2 separate regions of the Homo sapiens genome follow, and region 2 is linked to region 1. The links are contacts of gene promoters, found by promoter capture Hi-C in blood cells and fetal thymus (Javierre and others, 2016). All regions are on one chromosome and are shown on one strand. The core of a region is centred on a gene start or on the middle of the fragment in contact, and the rest is flanking DNA. Distances in the headings are between cores, read along the strand shown.

Region 1 (3,307 bases), core at 488-2,987:
GGCAAAGCCAGATCCGGGCACATGCCCATCCGTGTTGTTCTCATGCTCTCAGGGGGTAGAGCTAGTGTGTTGGACTTGGCATGTTTAGGGTCACCTCCCTGAGGGTTGACAACCTGAGCAAAATCAGCATTCCCTTGGCAAGGAATAAAGGGGGAATGGATTTGTGGTCAGCAACCCACCGCCAAGCATTCTGCCTGCAACAGGGTGGGGCTGGCCAGGGGAGGCTCCTCAGGGAAGGTGAAAGCTGTGCAGAGTTTTGCAGGATGACTCAGTGCTTATCAGGTAGACAGATAAGGAAGAACATTCCAGGGAGAGGGAGGAATGCTAACAACAGCAGGGGATCTGGTCTGTACTAGACATGCCAAAGGAATGGTGTGTCCATATCAACAGAGGAGGGAGAGACAGAAGAGAAAGAGCTTGTCAGGGCCTGAGTCAGAGCGGGCTCATGCTGTGGGGCTAAGAAGCTCAAATGATTTCCAGAGACAGTGGGGAAGCTTTACAGGGACAGGCAGGGGAAGATCTTAACCCGGCTTTCGTAGGCCTCTGGCTTGAGTATAGAAGGTGAGTCTGGGACAGGGAGCCCAGCGCCGAAGTGTTGCAACACTATAGGGAGACATACAGACCAATTCCCTCCCACCTAACAGCTCTGTGCTTTGGGGTCCTGGGTTAGTTTCCTGGGAGAAGGCTGGCCTTGGCTACCTCTGTCCTTGACCAAGGACATCGTTTTAAATATTTGTGATGTGTCCTAGGCCACTGCATCTCTGTCCCTGTAGCGAAGAGAAGATACTGATTCCTAAGCTCCTACTCTGAGAACACAAATATCTGCAATACCTCGGTAAGCCCTAGGCCTGAGTGTGAGGTTGCAGGCACTTCCATGGCCCCATGCAGGTGTCTAAGTTCCCTCGTGGTATTTGGCCAAGGGGGGCCCTGTGTGATGCCCTAGCGCGGTGACTACCCGTGTTCCTGGCCCATGGGCATCTTCCACGGAATTCTGGGCTTAGCCTGGGGATTCATGCGGGCGCATCTCTGTGATCTGCTCTGGAGCAGGATGTACATCAGGTCTCTCAGACCTGAGTCCCTGGTGCCTGGCGCTCAGCCTTGACTGAAGTGCTCGGCCCACCCTGCTGGGCCAGCCAGCTCCTGCTCAGGGCCACAGCCCTGTAACCACGGCTTCCTCCCCAGGACTCAGGAATTCTCCCACTCCGGAATGCCTTGCTGCTGGGGTGACCAGGTCTTCACTTGTGAAACAGGAGTCAGCCACCTCAGCCCTGCGCCTGGCCTGGTGGAACATGGGTCACCGCCCCAACCTGGGGCAGCCGCCCCATCCCAACGCAGTTGCTGCCGCTCTCCATGCCTCCCTGTGCCCAGCTAACTGGGGGACTTGTCCCCTGGGAAAACCTGGGTACCCAGGCTGCCTTTGGTTTCAGCCCCTACTCCTCTTCCCGGGCTGCCTTTGCTCCCCGGAAGACCCCTTTCCCCGGGCTGTGTTCACATCGGCTGGGAAGGGTCCCTTGCAGACAGATCTTGGACGAGGTCGCGTCCCCCCTCGTGACCAGCAAACTCCTAAAAGCGGCCCTTGCCCCAGAGCCCCTGTAGCCTCCAACCGGCAGTCAGGAGGCAGCGCCGTCTCAGCGCCGCTTAGTGGCGCCAGGCGTGCCTGGAAATCCGCTTTCGCAGCGCCCCCTCGTAGCCGCCTCCGCCCGCAGAAAGGCGTTCCCTGGACAGAGAAGCGGGCGCGCGGGGGCGGGCGCGCGGGGCCTTGCCGGAGAACCTGACTCTCCGCAGCAGCAGTGGAAGCCGGAGTGACGCGTTGTGTTGAACACCAGTTTTCTGGAGCGCTGTGTGTTCTTAACAGCTGAGCAGTCTGTTTCTCCAATCAGGTTTCAAAGCCACTTCAACTGCACTGGCCCCTGTGGGTCACTGCTGCACCGCCCTGACCCATGTGGGTCCCTGAGGAGCGACCTGCCGGGGCCACCTGGCTGGACGAAAAAGACACACCTTGGACTTAAGCCGTGAGAAAAAAACTTCATCAGTAAGAAGAATGAATAAACAGACTAGGTTGAATCCATACAATGGAATGTTAGCAGACAATAAAAAGAAAATGAACTATTGATGTCCCCTACTGCACAGCAGAAGCTCTGAATCGTGTTCCTGAATGAAAGAAGTCAGGTATGAAAGAATAAACATTGTATGATTCCATTTATATGAAAATGAATCTGTGATTTAAAAATCAGACTAGTATTAGGTTGGTGCAAAAGTAATTGCGGTTTTTGCCTTTTTTTTTTTTTTTTAATAGTTGCTTTGGGGTTTATGGATGGAGTGGCATGGTAGAGGTTAGCTGAAGGGGGCATGAAATAACTTTTTGGGGGTGCTAGAGTGTTGTAAATCTTACAGTGGGGGAGGGACAGGAGTGCAGGCATTTGACAAAACACATTGAATTGTGAAATTTAAGATTTTTGAATTTCTTTGTATGTAAATTACCTGCCAATAAAAACATGACGAATAGAGCAGTTATGAGCATTTGTGTGTAGCTTTTTGTGCAAACTTAAATTATAATTTCTCTGATAAAAGCCCAGGAATGTGATTGTTGAGTAATATGGTAAGTGCATGTTTTTTGAGAAACTGTCAATCTATTTTTGGGAGTGGCTGTGTGTATCATGTTATATTCTCACAAGCAAGGGATGAGAAATTTGGTTTCTCTGCATCCTTGCTAGCATTTGGTTTTATCATTATATTTTTATTTCAACTGCTCAAATAAGTGTGCAGTGATTTCTCATGATCTCAATTTGCATTTCCCCAAAGGCTAATGATGTTAAATATATTTCCACATGCTGATTTGACTCGGCCATGAAATGTCTCTTCATGTCTATTGCCCAATTTCTTATCAGATTTTTTTTTTTACTGTTGAGTTTTGAGAGCTCTTTATGCATTGTAAATGTGAGTCCTTTGTCAGATATGCAGTTTGCAAATATTTTCTCCCCTCCATAGCTTGTCCTTTCATCATCTTAACAGAATATTTTGCAGAGGCAAAGTTTTTAATTTTGATGAAGTCCAATTTATCAATTCTTTCTTTAATGAATCGTACTTGGGTGCCATGCCTATGAACTCATCCTCAACTCCTAGGTCCAGATGATTTTCTCCTGTGTCTTCCTATCATAGCCAGAAACTAGAAAAGAACCAAAATGTCCCTCACTAAGTGAATGCTTAAACTAAGTGACACATCTATGCCAATATTCAGCAATAAAAAGAAACATTATTCATGCAAATAACTAAATGGATGGATCTCAAGAGCATTAGGCTAAGTGAA
Region 2 (3,720 bases), core at 72-2,571, 140 kb after region 1:
TTGGGGTGTCTGCTCCACCTGAGCTTCAGGAAGACCAGAACAAGGTCTTTTGGCCGGTCTTCGTCAGCACAGGGCACGGCACAGAGTCGGCCTCAGGCATGTTTGCTAGGTGAGTGAATGAATGAATGATACTGGAGTAGTGGGCTTCTGCCTCACCTAGGGGTTCTGTTAAAATGCAGACTCTGATTCGGGGGCTCAGAGTGTGCTGAGATTCTGCCTTTCCATCAACTTGCAGGTGGTGCTGAGTCCCTGGGTACATGGAGGAGCAAAGACATGAACCTTTCCCTGCTCCTGGCAACTGGCTCCATCCTACTCCCTATGGGCTTCATGAACTTGCCTGTGGTTGGGGATACTTCCTGCCCTTATGGGCCCCAGAACCCCTATCTCTTAAAAAGGGAAATTTCCCTGGACATCTCTCAGTTGCTGTCCACCCTGTGAAATGAACCCAGGAAGCTATGGTTAGGTACCCTAGCCCGGTCTGGCCCAAATGCAAGTGTTCTGGCGGTGAACACTTAGCATAGGGTTTGGAGAGTCCCTCTCGGTGATGTGCTAAAGCAACCTATATGGCACCACCTCACCAGGGGGCACCGAGGCAAGCAGGATTCCCAGAAGTCACAGACCCGAAGAGAGAAAAAGAACCAGTCCCTGGGCTTGACATGAGACAAAGGAGACCAGAATGGACACACGGCAGCCACTCTCCTATCAAGTTTTCCACATCACCTTCATCCCCTCATTTCAGCCATACCAACAACCCAGCAAGGCAGAGGCAGCAGGCCTCCCATTTGCCTTACAATGGAGGGACTAAGCCCAGAGAGGTGTGAGCACCTCACTAGCATCATCTAGCAGTGAGTAGGGTAGGCACAATGGTACCTGGCTCTGAATGCCTGGTCTAGGTTCTGTCCCTCACATGGCACTGGGTTAAGAGACATCCTGAGACATGCAGGGATACCCTTGGGAGTTTGGAGGAGCTTCAGGCACCATGCATAGCCAATAAATCAGAATAAACAACTAGTCAGGAAAATCAAATGCTTGGATTTTATTATTAAAATATTTTCAAAGCTGATGAAATTGGAAAATGACGAACCGAGACCTGACTCTATTGCTCATCCCCAAGTTAAGAGAGCCAGCTTTCAGCTCACCTGCTGGGCAACTTGACAGAAAGAATGCACACACACACACACACACACACACACACACTCACACACATACCTCCCCTCCTAGACCTTCCAAGCAGGGAGTCTCGCCCGAGTAACACATACCCTTTACTCGCATTCTTCCCTTGATTTATCAGGAGAGAATGGTCAGAACTTAACAGAAAAAAAAGGACCCAGGCTCTTGGGTTCTGAGAGGGGATGGGGTGAGGCTGTCTGTCATGATGACCTTGACCTTTTCCTTCCTGCACCTCCAGATTCCCTCTCCCCTTCTTTAAGAGTGGAGGAGGTGGTACCTAGGGGCCAGGACCCTCCATTTCAGTCTGTACAAACCACTAATTCCTTCTGTGCCCTTAGGCAAGTCACTCGCCCTGCCTGGTCAATAAAGTCTCCTTCTTTACTGAAAAATACATCAGCTTGCCTCATGTGGATGTCCTGAGACATAAATGACAGATGGGAAATGAGGGGCTTTGTAAGATTTAAAATGCTGTGTCCCTGAGAAGGATGTTGCACTGGTTTGGAGCCAGGATCTGATAAACAGGAGACAAATGAAACACTGGAATAAAAAAATACTTGTAACTTATATGAAAAAAATAAACGTATGTTATTAATATACAAAGAGCTCTAACCAATCAATAAGAAAAAATCCTGGGAAATTGATATGAACATAGGCAGATCAGAAATGAAGAAATTCAAGTGCTTATGAACATATTGGAGAATAATAATAGCTTACATTTACTTGGCCCTTATTTTGAGCCAGGAACTGTGCTGGCACTTTACATGAATGATGCCATTAAATCCTCCAATCCAATTAATAAGGTAAAGACCCATTACCATCCTCATTCTATAGATGAAGAAACTGAGGTCCAGGGAGGTTCAGCAACTTTCCCAGCATCACACAGCTTGAGAGTGCCAGAACAGGAATTCTCACTCACGCAGTCCGGCAGACCACAACCTCACTCACAGGGAACAGATTGCAAATCACAATAACTAGGAAGACATTGTTCCTTCACTTATCAAATTAGCCAAAATATTAAAGTTCGATTAACAATCAAATATTGGCGTGGGTATGAGAAAATATGCGTTTTCATGTATTATTGGTGCAATCTTTCTGGGGAGCAATTTGCCAATACCGGTAGATATTTTACATGTACCACTTGATGAAAAATTTATCCTACAGATATACTCACACCTGAACATAAAACTATACATACAAGGATATTTATTTTTATATGAGAAAAAGGAACTCTCATTCATTGCTAGTAGGAATACGAAATTGTACAGAGATAGTTTGGCAGTTTCTTATGAAGCTAAACATAGTCTTACAGCAATGTTGCCCTGCGTATTTAACCAACTGAAGTAAACATATGTCCACATCAAAACCTGCACATGAATATTTATAGTAGTTTTATTCATAATAGTCAAAACCTGAAAGCAACCAAGATGCCCTTTGGTAGATGAATAAATGGCAGTATGCCCAGACAACAGAACATTTTTCAGCACTAAAAAGAAATGAGTTCTCAAGCTATGAAAATACATGGAGGAAGCTTAAATCCATATTGCTAGGTGAAAGAAGCCTGTCTGAAAAGGCTACATGCTACATGAAGCCAACTCTGTGACATTCAGGAAAACTATAGAGACAGTAAAAAGATCAGTGGTTGCCAGGAGTCCTGGGGAAGGTAAGAGGGGTGAATGGACGGAGCACAGGGGATTTTTAGGTGGTCCAACTATTCTGTATGCTACTGGAGTGGGAGATACACCACATGGATTTTCAAAATCCAGAGAAGTGTCCAACACAAAGAGTAAACTTTAAACCATGAACTTTAGGAAACAGTAATGCATCAATATTGGTGCATTAATTGTAACAAATGTACCATGTTGTACACTATGCAAGCTCATAATAGGAGAAAGTGTATGAGAGTGAGAAAGTGTAGGGGAACTCTGTATTTTCTGCATACTTTTTCTCTTAATTAAATCTCATCTAAGAAATAAATCTATTAAGTTAAAAAAAATGTGAGGTGTAACATAAAGTCCAGAAAAAGAAGTCTGGTTTAATTTTAAAAGGCACTTGTATACTATGCCATACAATATGCCCAGGAAGAAAATAAAGAAAATATTGTTATATGTGGCAGTATTATCTACAAGACATATCTTAATTTTTTTTTTCTTTTTTTGGCAGAGTCTCGCTCTGTTGCCCAGGCTGGAGTGCAGCGGCACAATCTCAGCTCATTGCAACCACCACCTCCTGGGTTCAAGCGATTCTCCTGACTGTAGCTGGGATTACAGGCACCCGCCACCACGCCCAGCTAATTTTTGTATCTTTAGTAGCGACAGGATTTCACCATGTTGGCCTGGCTAGTCTGGAACTCTTGACCTCAGGTGATCCTCCCACCTCAGCCTCCCAAAGTGCTGGAATTACACGCATGAGCCACCATGCCTGGCCTATCTTAAAGAATTAATACAGAATAGTATCTAAGTGGGATCTCACTTGTATGGAATATTCAGAGGTCTGAGCTTGTGATTACCAAGGAAGTTTGTGGAAGGCCCATGGAAATTATTAACATCTTCA

What was found. Contacts are between HindIII fragments. The CHiCAGO score rates a contact against its expected background, and 5 or more counts as called.
Region 2: a fragment that was not itself captured here is called in contact with the fragment with the promoter of LINC00842 in region 1 in 2 of 17 cell types (megakaryocytes and total CD8 T cells); the score reaches 5.6 in megakaryocytes.

What each region holds. Positions count from the first base shown.
Region 1 is chr10:46,396,625-46,399,931 of GRCh38, forward strand. LINC00842 (long intergenic non-protein coding RNA 842) reads left to right here and starts at 1,738. Exons shown (of 4, transcript NR_033957.2): 1 at 1,738-2,169. RefSeq lists an enhancer at 1-613. The HindIII fragment of the contact is 4,014 bases long and covers 497-3,307 here.
Region 2 is chr10:46,536,306-46,540,025 of GRCh38, forward strand. LOC124902419 (a long non-coding RNA gene) reads left to right here and starts at 964. Exons shown (of 2, transcript XR_007062138.1): 1 at 964-3,720. RefSeq lists an enhancer at 1-17. The HindIII fragment of the contact is 2,757 bases long and covers 1-2,700 here.